2 separate regions of the Homo sapiens genome follow, and region 2 is linked to region 1. The links are contacts of gene promoters, found by promoter capture Hi-C in human tissues and cell types (Jung and others, 2019). All regions are on one chromosome and are shown on one strand. The core of a region is centred on a gene start or on the middle of the fragment in contact, and the rest is flanking DNA. Distances in the headings are between cores, read along the strand shown.

What was found. Contacts are between HindIII fragments. The study calls those that stand out against the background at their distance.
Region 2: a contact is called between a fragment that was not itself captured here and the fragment with the promoter of SLC35A3 in region 1, in 1 of the 25 tissues and cell types used here (pancreas).

What each region holds. Positions count from the first base shown.
Region 1 is chr1:99,966,240-99,973,039 of GRCh38, forward strand. SLC35A3 (solute carrier family 35 member A3) reads left to right here and starts at 3,757. Exons shown (of 8, transcript NM_012243.3): 1 at 3,757-3,923. The region is part of intron 1 of LOC124904230 (a long non-coding RNA gene); the gene reads right to left. RefSeq lists enhancers at 3,237-3,286, 3,347-3,396, 4,117-4,206 and a silencer at 3,797-3,996. The HindIII fragment of the contact is 9,355 bases long and covers 1-6,800 here.
Region 2 is chr1:99,929,757-99,936,556 of GRCh38, forward strand. It overlaps LOC124904230 (a long non-coding RNA gene), which reads right to left. Exons shown (of 7, transcript XR_007066251.1): 5 at 4,400-4,461. Among named protein-coding and RNA genes, the nearest start is that of SLC35A3, 37 kb to the right of the region's middle. The HindIII fragment of the contact is 3,519 bases long and covers 2,465-5,983 here.

The DNA of each region.
Region 1 (6,800 bases), core at 2,507-5,006:
TTCTCTGGGGCATCATAGGGAATCCCAGTTATTGTACAATATCATAATGCACTCATGCCTTCAATAGGGTTGCCACATTTAGCAAATAAAATTACAGGACATCCAGTTAAATTAGAATTTCTGATAATCAATGAATTTTTTAAAGTATATCCGAAATATTCCATACTTCGTTGCTTATTTGAAATTTAAATTTAACAAGGCTTCTGTTTTTTTTTTTTTTTTTTTTTTTTTTTTTGAGACAGAGTTTACCCTCTTGTTGCCCAGGCTAGAGTGCAATGGTGCAATCCTTGGCTCACCGCAACCTCTGCCTCCCGGGTTTAAGCAATTCTCCTGCCTCAGCCTCCTGAGTAGCTGGGATTACAGGCATGTGCCACCACGCCCCGCTAATTTTTTGTATTTTTAGGAGAGACGGGGTTTCTCCATGTTGGTTAGGCTGGTCTCGAACTCCCAAACTCAGGTGATCTGCCTGCCTCGGCCTCCCAAAGTGCTGGGATTACAGGCGTGAGCCACTGCGCCAGGCGAAGGCCTCTATTTTATCCGACAATTCTAATTAGGTACCACTGAGACACATAGTCCTATTTGGCCCTGGCTGCCTTTAGACTATTATCTTTTTCTCATTTGAAAGAGCTGCAGACCTTGGGTACTGATTTGAATTGTTGGATGTCCAGACTTGCAGTTCAGGCTCAGCTGACATTCTTGCCCTGGTGAGCTTCTGTACCTTCCTCTTCGCCCTCTGAAGGTTGGCTGAATAATCAACTGACAAAAGTCAGATTAATAAGAGAAGAGGCAGGCTGGGCACGGTGGTTCATGCCTGTAATCCCAATACAATGGGAGGCTGAGGCAAGAAGATCACTGGAGCTCAGGAGTTTGAGACCAGCCTGCATAAAATAGTGGGAACCCATCTCTATTAAAAGTAAAAAAAAATTAGCCAGGTATGGTGGCATGTGCCTATAGTCCCAGCTACTCAGGAGGCTGAGGCAGGAGGGTTGCTTAAGTGGGAGGCTGAGGCAGGAGGACCTTGGAGGTCAAGGCTACAGTGAGCCATGATCATGCGACTGCACTCCTTCTAGAGAGAGACCCTAACTAAAAAAAAAATAAATAAAAAAAAAAGAAAGAAAAGAAAAAAGGCATAGAAATTTATTAGTGTACATGAGGAGAAATCACAGGGTGATTACTCTTATCCCCCATGTAGTACAGAAGGGTATACCATCTTTACAAAGAATGAGAGCTCCAAGCATGGCCAAAAATAGATTATGGTGGTAAATCAGGTTATAGTGGCAAAACAAGTTACGGGAGGGACAGAAGCAGAGGCCTGACTAACAAAGGTGGGTAGCAGCCCTCAGAGAGAATAGATGGTGGAAGTTTCTTTCAGACCTTTAAAAGTGTCAGAATCTCAGTAAATCTTTCCTAGATCTGGACAAGGAAGGGCCTCAGAGAAAGCCTGGCTACATTAATGCAGATTCTCCACAGATGCAAATCTGCCCTACAAGAGACAGTTTTGCAGGGCTACTGGGCTACTTTTTTTTTTTTTTTTTTTTTGAGACAGGGTCTTGCTCTATCAGCCAGGCTGGAGTACAGTAGCATGATCATGGCTTAATGTGGCCTTGAACTCCTGGGATCAAGTGATCGTCCCACCTCAGCCTCCCTCATGAGTAGCTAGGACTAAAGGCATGTACCATTATGACTGGTACATGTTTAAATTTTTATTTTTTGTAGTGATGGGATCTCAATATGTTGCTCAGGCTGGTCGCGATCTCCTGGGCTCAAGCAATCCGCTGGCCTCAGCCTCCCAAAGTCTTGGGATTACAAGCGTGAGCCACCACATCTGGCCTGCAAAGGCTACTTCTGATTGCAGGCCCTCTAAACAGTCATCTCAAAATATGTCAAAGTAGTATATTTTGGGGTAAAATATTTTGATTTCCTTCAAAGCCATTGTAGGGTTAATAATTGGCCTAATTTCAATATTGCTGTTTATTGGGAAATAGGGAGGCCCAAGGGGGAGAAGTGTGGGGAAATGGGCAGTTGGTGGAGTAGTCAGAACACACATAACATTTATTAATTAAGTTTGCCTTTCTATATGAGTGCAGTACATGGCACCTGTATTAGTCCATTTTCATGGTGCTGATAAAGACATACCCGAGACTGGGAAGAAAAAGAAGTTTAATTGGACCTACAGTTCCACATGGCGGGGGAGGCCTCAGAATCATGGCGGGAGGTGAAAGGTACTTGCTTACATGGCTGCAGCAAGAGAAAAATGAGGAAGAAGCAAAATCAGAAACCCCAGATAAACCCATCGGATTTCATGAGACTTATTCACTATCATGAGAATAGCACAGGAAAGACTGGCCCCCATGATTCAATTATCTCCCCCTAGGTCTCTCCCTCAACACGTGGGAATTCTGGGAGATACAGTTCAAGTTGAGATTTGGGTGGGGACACAGCCAAACCATATCAGCACCCCAAAACAATTACCATAGTAACATCAAAGATCATTGATCACAAAGCACTATACCAGATATAATAATGATGAACAAATTTAAATATTGCAAAAATTATTGAATATTATGTGACACAGAGACACAAAGTGAGCACATGCTGTTGGAAAAATGGCACCAATAGATGTGCTTGAGGCAAGGTTGCCACAAACCTTCAATTTGTAAAAAAAAAAAACAAAAAAACAAAAGCAATGTCTGTGAAGAGCAATAAAGCAAATCACAATAAAACGAGGCATGCTGTTATCATCATCTAACAGGCACATTTTGGTTTCAAAAAAAACTGGGCATGTATTAAGATCTAATATGTATTTTACCATCCAGGAATTTTCTCAAGACTGTATTGCAGAAAATTTTAAAACCAGTTATTCTACTCTAATACAGTTACTTATTTTTCTTCAATATCACTTTTTTTCTAAGTATGTCTCTCTTGGACATGGTTTTAATCATTTGCAATATAAAGAGACATAGGCTTAATTTATAGCAGCCCTGAGTTAACAAAAAGAGATAATCCTATTCGCTTATTTGATAATCCAGCTGAACCTGAAGTACTGATTTCAGCCTGTTCATCACCTGAATGGGCTGCCGTGGTTAGAGGGTTTCCAACACAGCTACTGGAACACTTTTAAAAGGTAATGCTGTGATCCATGCAGCCAGGAAGGGGTTGGTCCCTCATAACTCTGCAATCCTCTGGGCCCAGTTTTCTTTTTCCTCTCCCGGTTGATGACACTAGGCCCATTGGTGGTACGGCTTTGGGTTTCCTTCAGTCTCAAGATCTCAGTCAGGGTGGGTGAAGTGGAAGAACAAGCCTTCTTGCAGACCACTGGTTGGTTGGCAGCCTTTGCCATAGCTAATCTGGTTGTTTTCAGGTCAGTGACAGTCACTTTTAGGAGAGGGTTCGTTTGCTTTCAAAATCCATCTCCCCGTTCCTCTCAGGGTTCTTTGCCCCAAAGGACTTTGCCCTTCCTTACGCAGTGGACACCTTGGCACCCTCTGCAAACAGACAGTCCCGCAGAGGCCCTCGACGAGTGTCACTCCATCTGTTTCGCGCTCCTAGGAGAGGTGTAGCAGAAAGCAGTGCCCCAGGCCTCCACGCGACGGTGAAGCAGGAACCAGGGGCTGCCAGCAGAGCAGCCCAGGTGCGTCGCCTTAGGGACAGAGCTGCCAAGTGCCGAGCTGGGGCTGCCAGAGCCGAGCCGGGAACGGCATTTGCCAGAGCCGAGGCGGAAGCCGGAGCATTTGGGGGACGGGACCGCGGGAACCCGGAAACGCCTGGGCTGCACCGAGCTGGCGGTGGCTACGGCGACGGGAGCCGGCGGCGCTGCGGGTCAGCGGTCGCGTAGGACCCAGCGGACTCGGCAGCCTGGGGCGCCCGGCGGAGCTGAACCGCGGCCCCCGGTGGTGGGCTCAGCCGGTCGAGCTGCGCGGGAGGTGAGTCCTCAGCGCACCTGGGGAGGGGCGGGAACCAGGAGGCTAGCGGCTGCGGGGCGGCCCGGGAAGCTCCTGGAGGAGGAGGAAGAGGAGGCATGCGAGGGGGCTGATGTGAAGTCTGTAGGGGTGAAGGGGACGGTATCGAAGACCTGAAATACAGTGCTAGCTAAGTAGGGGTGGGAGCAGATGAGGTGACACGTTGTAACTCCGACGGACGACGTGCGGAATGTACTGGGTGGAGGAGGAAAAAAGGCCCGAGGAGAGGGGTGTGTCAAGCGAATGAAGACGGCAGTGTGTGCCTCAGCGCCTGGTGCGTGCGGAGCTAGTGACGGGTGGGCCCGGCTGGGGCCCGTCATTCCTTCAGTGAACATCCCATGAGCTCTCGCTCGGTGTTGAGCCCTGTGGTAGGCACAGATGCACCCGACCAGCACCTGGAGCTCAAGAAGCCGCAGGAACTTAAAGAAATGGAAAGGCTGCCCTTGGTAAGGCTAGTAAGAACACAAGGACTGTTTGAAGTGGGGTGAGATTCTCATCAGAACAGGTGTGTGGGTGCATTGCTTTATAGTAAAAGACGATCTTTTATTATGTTCTCTTAAATGCAGTATTTGAAAATTAAGTCTTTTCGTTTTTGAAATCAACATTCGACTTTAGTAGTTAAAGATGAAATTTGGTGCAGTTTCTTACTTGGTGTTCTTATTCACTTTCACTGGTAAACTCAGGGTGTTTCAAGGGAATGACTTGTAAACTTATATTTCTGAGGCTAACTTTCCTCCCAACTGTTGATTCTATCTCTTCAGCATCTCAAATTTAGTTCTCCCCTTTTTCATTCCCACTACCTGTCTGCTAAATATGCTCGTCTTTCCTCTTCTTACTTGCACTATAGCAATAACTTCCAAACTGGACTTGTCCTCAGCCTGGCACCCTTCCAGTCACTTGCCTCCATATTACTTTTAAAGCCAAAGATCTTATGACTTTCTTTTTTTGGTTATTCCTTCCTCAGAAATACGCAGTGACTCTCGATCGGCTTCAGAATAAAATGTAAATTATTTAGGGAGGCATTTAATAAATTTTATATTATTTAGGGAGGCTTCAGATTTTTCCTTCAGAATTTGAGTCTGACGGTGGCTCCAGTAAAATCAATATGATTCTTTTTTTTTTTTTTTAGACGGAGTCTCGCTCTGTCGCCCAGGCTGGAGTGCAGTGGCGCAATCTCAGCTCACTGCAAGCTCCGCCTCCCGGGTTCATGCCGTTCTCCTGCCTCAGCCTCCTGAGTAGCTGGGACTACAGGCGCCCGCCGCCACGCCCGGCTAATTTTTTTGTATTTTTAATAGAGACGGGGTTTCACCATGTTAGCCAGGATGGTCTCGATCTCCTGACCTCGTGATCCACCCACCTCGGCCTCTCAAAGTGCTGGGATTACAGGCGTGAGCCACCGCACCCGGCCCCCAATATGATTCTTTCTTTTTTCCTTTTATTAAACAAGTATTACTTTTTTCCACATATCCTATTTTTTAGCCAAACTAGTCGTTAATTAGACGTCCAGTTTCTGAACATGCTATATGCCTGTCAGCCTTGGTGTTTGCTTTTATCATTTCTTCCTACAAAGAAGAAACAAGGAAGGCCTTCCTTGCTGTCTTTGTAGAAATTCTACTTATTCTTCAATTCCTTAAATGCCATCTCTTTCTTATGCAGCTTTCTGAAATCTGCCATAAATCCAGTTCATTCTTTTTTTCTTTTTCTTTTTCTCTTTTTTTGAGAGAGTTTTGCTCTTGTTGCCCAGGCTGGAGTTCAATGTTGCGATCTCGGCTCACTGCAACCTCCGTCTCCCGGGTTCAAGCGATTCTCCTGCCTCAGCCTCCTGAAGTAGCTGGGATTACAGGTGCCCGCCACCACACCCAGCCAATTTTTTTGTAGTTTTAGTTGAGACGGGGTTTCACCATGTTGGCCAGGCTGGTCTTGAACTCCTGACCTCAGGTGATCCACCTGCCTCGACATCCCAAAGTGTTGGGATTACAGGCATGAGCCACTACGCCCAGCCCATTTTTTTTTCTTCATGTGTGCTGGGCTTTATAAATCTTACAACACTTGTTAAATTTGCATTGTAATTTGAGAGTTCTATTATCCCTACTGTAATGTAAGCTTCCTAAGGAAAGCATTTGTACTTACTACTTTTTTTTTTTTTTTTTTTGAGATGGAGTCTTGCTCTGTCACGCAGGCTGGAGTGCAGTGGCGTGACCCTCTCGCCTCACTGCCACCTCTGCCTTCCAGGTTCAAGAGATTCTTCTGCCTCAGCCTCTCGAGTAGCTGGGACTACAGGCGTGCATCACCACACCTAGCTAATTTTTGTATTTTTAGTAGAGACGGGGGTTTCACCATGTTGGCCAGGCTGGTTTTGAACTCCTGGCCTCAAGTGATCCACCCACCTCACCTCCTAAAGTGCTGGAATTACAGGCATGAGCCACCGCGCCCAGCCTGTACTTACTACATTTTTAAAGCACTTTAGTACTTGAACACATCATGATGTATTAGACTCTTAAATATTTGTTACATTAATCATGTAATGAAACAGACTGTTATTGTGCTTCTGGAGACAAGATGAGCTCTTGAGTTGTTATAGAAACTTACTGTGGATTTAATATTTGAAAATGCTTTTCTGTTCCATGTTTTAGTACCTCATTTGATCCTAGTAATAAATCGTTGGTGTAGGATAGTTATTATCACCGCTATTTTATAGATAAGAATATTAAAGTTCAGACAGTCCAAATAATTTGCCCTGGGACCTACATATACGCCTTAGGCTGCCTCAATTATATTTGAAATTGATATAATTTGTGTCCTGAAACATGTGCCTTTTACTTAGTAGAAATTCAACATTTT
Region 2 (6,800 bases), core at 2,974-5,473, 36 kb before region 1:
TGAACCCACCACAGAGTTGAAAACGAAGACAAATATCCTGCCCCTATTTTAGACAATACTACAGCCAAGCAAAGATAGTAGCTGTTTATTTCACAAATTCCTGTCTAGGAAGATGAGACTGTAAACCAACTAAAACAGCTAGCTCACCAGTATTTTTCTGATAATTATCTTGCTCATCAAGATTTATTTTAAAACACTTGCCTCATTTTGTCCACCAATACAAAGCTATTATTTTTAAACTCTGCCTAATCCCAACCAGCTCCATCTTGCAATACCTGCCTTAAAAATCACCCAGCCATGTTCCAAAACTCTGTAAATACCTTTCCCTAACTTACCCCTTCTGAGAAAATACCAAGATTTTGTTAAGATGGTATTTTTCCTTGCAGCAATATTTAAGACGTGACCAACAGATTTTTCTGGAGGTATTTTATGGGAGATTTTTACAGAGCTTTAGAAGATAACCTTACCAGTATCACTAAAGTGCACTGCCTGCCCCTCCAAATTAGATTCCCTCTCTGCCACTGGTGGATTCTCCCTCCTGATTTTATGTTAGTTATTTTCCTAATTATCTCTATAGTGTTATATATGTATATCTTAATATACGATTTAGTTTTGCCTGTTTTAACCGTTATATATTTGGAATTCTATTATTTCTAATCTTTTTAAATTTAATTTTTGTAACATATTATGTTCTTGAGATTTATTCCCATTGATGAGTGCAGCTTGTGGCTCATTTTTCTTCTCTGCCATAGTTGATTCCATTGTTTGAATAAACCACAATTTATACATCCCTTCAAACGATTCTCTATAAGAAAATAACACCAACTTTAGTCTCTTTTTTCAATTTAAAAATAAATTTTCCAATATCTTTTTTTTTTCTTAATAGAGATGGGTTTCACTATGTCGCCCAGGCTGGTCTTGAACTCCTGGCCTCAAGGGATCCCCTCCCCCTCAACCTCGGCCTCCCAAAGTGCTGGGATTACAGACATGAGCCACCATGCCTGGCCAGCTTTAGGCTGTACAGTTCTTTTGTTCACAATATGTGGCATATTACCCAAAATAAAGAAACATTTGAAGAGAAAAGCAACTGTGATAAATAATCAAAAGAAAAAACAGACGAGATGCAGATCAAAATGATGCACTTGCAGAGGTTAGCTGATAGGCCTTTTCAAATAAGATTATAGACATGTTAAAAAATAAGAGAAGGAAATGGTGGCTTACACCTGTAATCCCAACACTTTGGGAGGCAAAAGCAGGAGGATTGCTTGAAGCCAGGAGCTCAAGACCAGCCTGAGCAACATAGGGAGACCCTGTCTCTAAATTAGTAAATAAAGGAAAACACAGAGAATTCCAAAAGAGAATTGGAATCTATATAAAAGTATCAGAAGGACATTCTAGAACTGAAAAATATTAATCTGAAATTAAGAATTTATATATAGAGTAGTTTTAACAGCAGACTGAGTGCTACAAGTAATGAAATCAAAGGCCAATCAATTAAAAATATCGAAACTAATGTAAAAAGAGAAAAATAACGGAAAGAACCAAGCACCGCTTGTGAGACACATGGGACAGTGTCAAACAGTCTCACACACTTGTAATTGGAGTCTCAGAATCAAGGAAAATGATAACAATGACTGAGAGTTTTTGAAAACTATTTATTGCTCACATTTTACCCCATCTGTCTTATTTTCTTAATTATTCCTCTTCACACACACGCACAGTACAGTTAACTCCAGTAAATTTAACATTGATGAAACTTTCATCAAATACACCTTCTAATTTCAGTGTTGTCAGTTCACTGAATAATGTCCTCCATAGCTTATTTTCCGTCGAGTACAGGGTCCAGTTAAGATCAGGTGTGGCATGCAATTGTCATCTCTTTAGTTCCCTTTAATCAGGAATATTTCCACAATATTTCTTTGTCATTTATGACATTTTTGAAGAAAAAAAGTTACCCCACCTCTTACCAAAAGAATATTCTTCATTTTGGGTTTATATGAAACATTCAGAAAGGCAAATACATAGACACAAAGAGCAGATTAATGGTTGCCTGGGGATTAGAATGGGAAGGGAAGAGGGAGTGACTGCAGTTGGGCATAAGCTTTTTTGTGGGGATGATTGAAATGTTCTACCATTAGATTTTGGTTTTTGTTATATAACTTTGAAAATTTACTAAAAATCATTCATGTATATACTTTAAATGGGTGAACTTTTTGGTAAGGAAATTAATTTCAATAAAACTTATTTTTTTTTTTTGAGACGGTGTCTCACTGTGTAGCCCAGACTGGAGTGCAGTGGCGCGATCTCGGCTCACTGCAACCTCCGCCACCCGGGTTCACGCCATTCTCCTGCCTCAGCCTCCCGAGCAGCTGGGACTACAGGCGCCCACCACCACTCCCAGCTAATTTTTTGTATTTTTAATAGAGATGGGGTTTCACTGTGTTAGCCAGGATGGCCTTGATCTCCTGATCTCGTGATCCACCCGCCTCAGCCTCCCAAAGTCCTGGGATTACAGGCGTGAGCCACCGCGCCTGGCCACTTTTTTTTTTTTTTGAGACAGAGTCTGGCTCTGTCGCCCAGGCTGCGATCTCGGCTCACTGCAAGCTCCACCTCCCGGGTTCACGCCATTCTCTTGCCTCAGCCTCCCAAGAAGCTGGGACTACAGGCACCCGCCACCATGCCTGGCTAATTTTTTGTGTTTTTAGTAGAGATGGGGTTTCACCGTGTTAGCCAGGATGGTCTTGATCTCCTGACCTCAGGATCCACCGCCTTGGCCTCCCAAAGTGCTGGGATTACAGGGGTGAGCCACCACTCCCGGCCCAATAAAGCTTTTTTAAAAAGTTAGATGCAGAGAGAAGAAAATATCAGAAAAACTATGATTAATATCCTCTAAGGTATAGGAGGAGATATTGCATTCAGGAAACAAGAACAGGATGCTATTGTTAAAAAAGGAACACCTGGGGACATAAAAAGAGCTCTTAGATATTGAAAACTCCAGCAGAAACAAAGAATTATACAATAAAGTTCAAGAACTTTCCCAGGGGAGCCAGGATGATGTTGAAGGGAGATCTCAAGGTGACATTTGTAGAGTGGACCTAGAGATCAACCAGTGCAGATTGGAGCTATCCAAGGAAGAGGGTTCTCTAAGTCATTAAAATTGATGGGATACCTAGTGCGTTTGAACTTTTAAGAGGATTCCTAGGTAAAGAAGTAGGGCTAGATTGTTCCTAAGTACTTAGAAAACTAAGCAAGCAATAACAAAAATAGATATTTAACAATAGAGGAAATAACGTTTTGCAGAAAAGGAAAGGTAATTAAAGTATACCATATGGCTCAGCTGTTAATAAAACTTAAAAGAGTTATTAGTACCATAAATGGTGAATTTTTATTATAGCAAAGTTATGATGAAGTTATACTGACTGGACTGGGGATGGAAAATGTGTTTGCCGTAGAGGCTAGGAGGAATGGGAAGGTGTGTGTGAAAGATAATTAAATGGACATCTTCCATAAAAGTCAATAAGTAATGCCTAAAATTGAAAAAAGAAAAAAACAAGAAATAGCAATATAAACATGTTACATAGCAACATGCAGGTAATACCCAAAACAATCAGTTCAGATATGAAATGGCTGGAAGAACATGAAAGATCAGTAGAAGTTGGGGCTGACTGGGTGAACTGGTGTTTGGGGAACAAAACTTACAGATCTCTTAATACTGTGGGCAAGGAAGCTTTGATGAAAATAAAAAAAATAGGCCAGGTGCAGTGGCTCACGCCTGTAATCCCAACACTTTGGGAGGCAAAAGGCAGGTGGATTGCTTGAGGTCAGGAGTTTGAGACCAGCCTGGGTAACATGGTGAAACCCCATCTCTACTAAAAATACAAAAATTAGCCAGGCTTGGTGGCACAGGCTTGTGATCCCAGCTACTTGAGAGGCTGAAACACAAAAATAGCTTGAACCCGGGAGGCAGAGTTTGCAGTGAGCCAAGATCAGGCCACCGCACTTCAGCCTGGGCAACAGAACGAGACGCTGCCTCCAAATAAATAAATAAATAAATAAATAAAAATTTAAAATAAAATTACATGAAATTAAAAATTGAACCTAGAGAAGAAAAAAGAAATACTGGTCCGTATTAGGAAAACACAGGGACATTTCTGCCTTCAAGACATCTGGCTCTGGTTGTTCTTAAGAAGCCAAAGAGATGTATATTTCTATTAAATTATGTACATCAAGGGTGATTTTAATAAAAAGATCCAGTAACAGAAAATTACTAATGTCCTCATTTCTGAAATGATGTTCAGGAAACTTCCATTTCATGAGCAGGTGAAGAAGAGGAACCCACAAAGGAGATAAAATCTGAGTTTTAGGTTCCCCTCTGCAAGGTAGGAAAATAGACACTCACTTTATGATATTGCCAAAAGGATTTCCTTCTTTGCCAAGTTTTAAGTTCCCAAATTTTATCTTCTTTACCTCGTTTTAGAAGAGAATGAGAGAAAGAAAAGGCAATGAATGGCAGTGTACTGGTGCCTGGTGAGACATTCTCCTTTTTAACTAAGCAGTATTCCTTTCTGCTTTTTCTTTCCTCAAATCCAAATCCTTGGAGATAGGAATCCAGCACTAATAACTTTCAAGCCCCCTAGGGGAGTCTAATTAACTGTTAGGGTTGAGACCACTGCATCAATGGAAGTCAGGATTCTGAAGCCAACAAGTTTGACTACCAAAATAAATCAAATATTTTCTGTCATCTTGCCTTTTTTGCCTTTTATACAAAATGTTTACAAACCTGTGATCATATACAGATAACAATTTCATACCCAGATATTCATTTTCAACAGGTATACAATTATTTCATTATGTATCATATGAGAATTAATTTGTTCTAAGGGAAAAGTTCCAGGTGTAACACTTCTAGCTCTGTGTTCATGTACATGAAAACTGAGGTTCACAAGAATTAAATGACTTACAAATAAAATGAATATCATACCTTAGGAATCTCGAGATATGAGAATGAATACTCTCATATCTCAGGAAAGGAATAGTCACAGGAATCTAAGAATTAAGTGAAACAATCTGTCTAAAAATACCAATTTAAAAATAGCATTCATATAAGATGGATTATTCCATTAGAACAGTGATTTTCAGCCAGGTGTGGTGGCTCATGCCTGTAATTCCAGCACTTTGGGAGGCCAAGCTGAGAATCCCTTGAGGCTAGGAGTTCAAGACCAGCCTGAGCAACATCACTAGACCCTGTCTCAAAAAAATTTTTTTAATTAGCCAGGTGTGGTGACATTTGCCTGTAGTTCTAGCTACTCAGAAGCCTGAGGCTAGAGGATTGCTTGAGCCCAGTAGTTAAAGGTTACAGTAAGCTATGATCACACCACTGCACTCCAACCTGGGTGACAGAGCAAGACCCTATCTCTATTAATAAAACAAAATTAATAAATTGCCTCTCTGGAGAGATTTACCAATATCTGGAGACAATTTTAATTGTCACAGCAGAAGAGTGCTACTTGCCTCTAGTGTGTTGCTAAACATCCTATACAGCATAGGACAGGTCCTCACAGTAAAAAATTATTGCAGCCCAAAATGCCAACAGTATTGAGGTTGAGAAACCCTGTACTAGAATACATTAATATTTAAAACACAAAATAAGTGACTTTTATATCTCAGTATTACCTTTATAATCTCCAAAATTACTTCTATCTTTCAGTAAAATGAATATTCACCACATTAATAATTGGCTGAATAATTGGTTATATTGAAAGCAAAAAGACATGGCTTTGAAGCAGCAGCGAGAGTTTAAGCTTGGTTTAAAGCATCAAAAGGGCCACTACTCTTTTTGAGAAGTTTCCTGGTTAGAATTTACTAAAACCTAATATATTTTTCTTTACATGGGGCCCTAAGACTCATCCTATTCTTGGATGCATTACTAAGGTACTCACTCTCATTCAACCACTACCTAATGACATGACATAAATGACTCAGAATGCCCTTATGATAGAGGCAGGAGGCAGACAAATGCCTAAGCAGATAGGGACAGGTCCTCAGTGAAACCCTACCTCCAAGCAGAAGACAGTTTAAAGCCTGAAAACCAAGCTACAAGTCAAATCCATGGACCAGATTGAGAACCTGTCTTCCCATTTGACATGCTTTTCTCTGATCCCCAAGCTTCACCTACTTTACATATACCTACCCTTTCCTAATTGGTTTTCTACACTGCCATGCCCACCTTTGAGTGGTGCCTTTCTTTGCATACTCACAAACCAATCAGCACACACTCCCTTATTTTGAGCCCATAAAAGCCCTGGACTCAGCCACACTGGGAGAGAAACCACCTGACTGCAAGGATGGGGGACCACCCCCATTGTCCCCTCCCCACTGAAAGCTTTTCCATCACTCAATAAAATTCTTGTTCACCCTCTTCACCCTTCAAATTGTCAGTGTATCCTCATTCTTCTTGGATGCAGGAGAAGAGCTCGGGAACTGCCTAATGCGGGTATAAGTCATAACACAAGCAGGCCGAGTGGGCAGGGTGCCTCCAGCAGCAGGCCCAGGGCCAAGCAAGGCCCAGGCAGTCAGGGGGCAGCACCAGCTGTGGATGTCCTCAGTCAGCAAAGTGGCTGAGAAAAATCCTGCAACACTTAGAAATGGAGTACACTTTACATGGAACACTGGAGGTCAAACTTCTGCCAAATCCATCAAACCATTCAACAGGCCTGTGAGAGCCACAGCATCAAACCCAAGACTACTACACAATCTAATGTCTTGACAAAAGTAAGTCAGATGGTGGAAAGGCTACATGC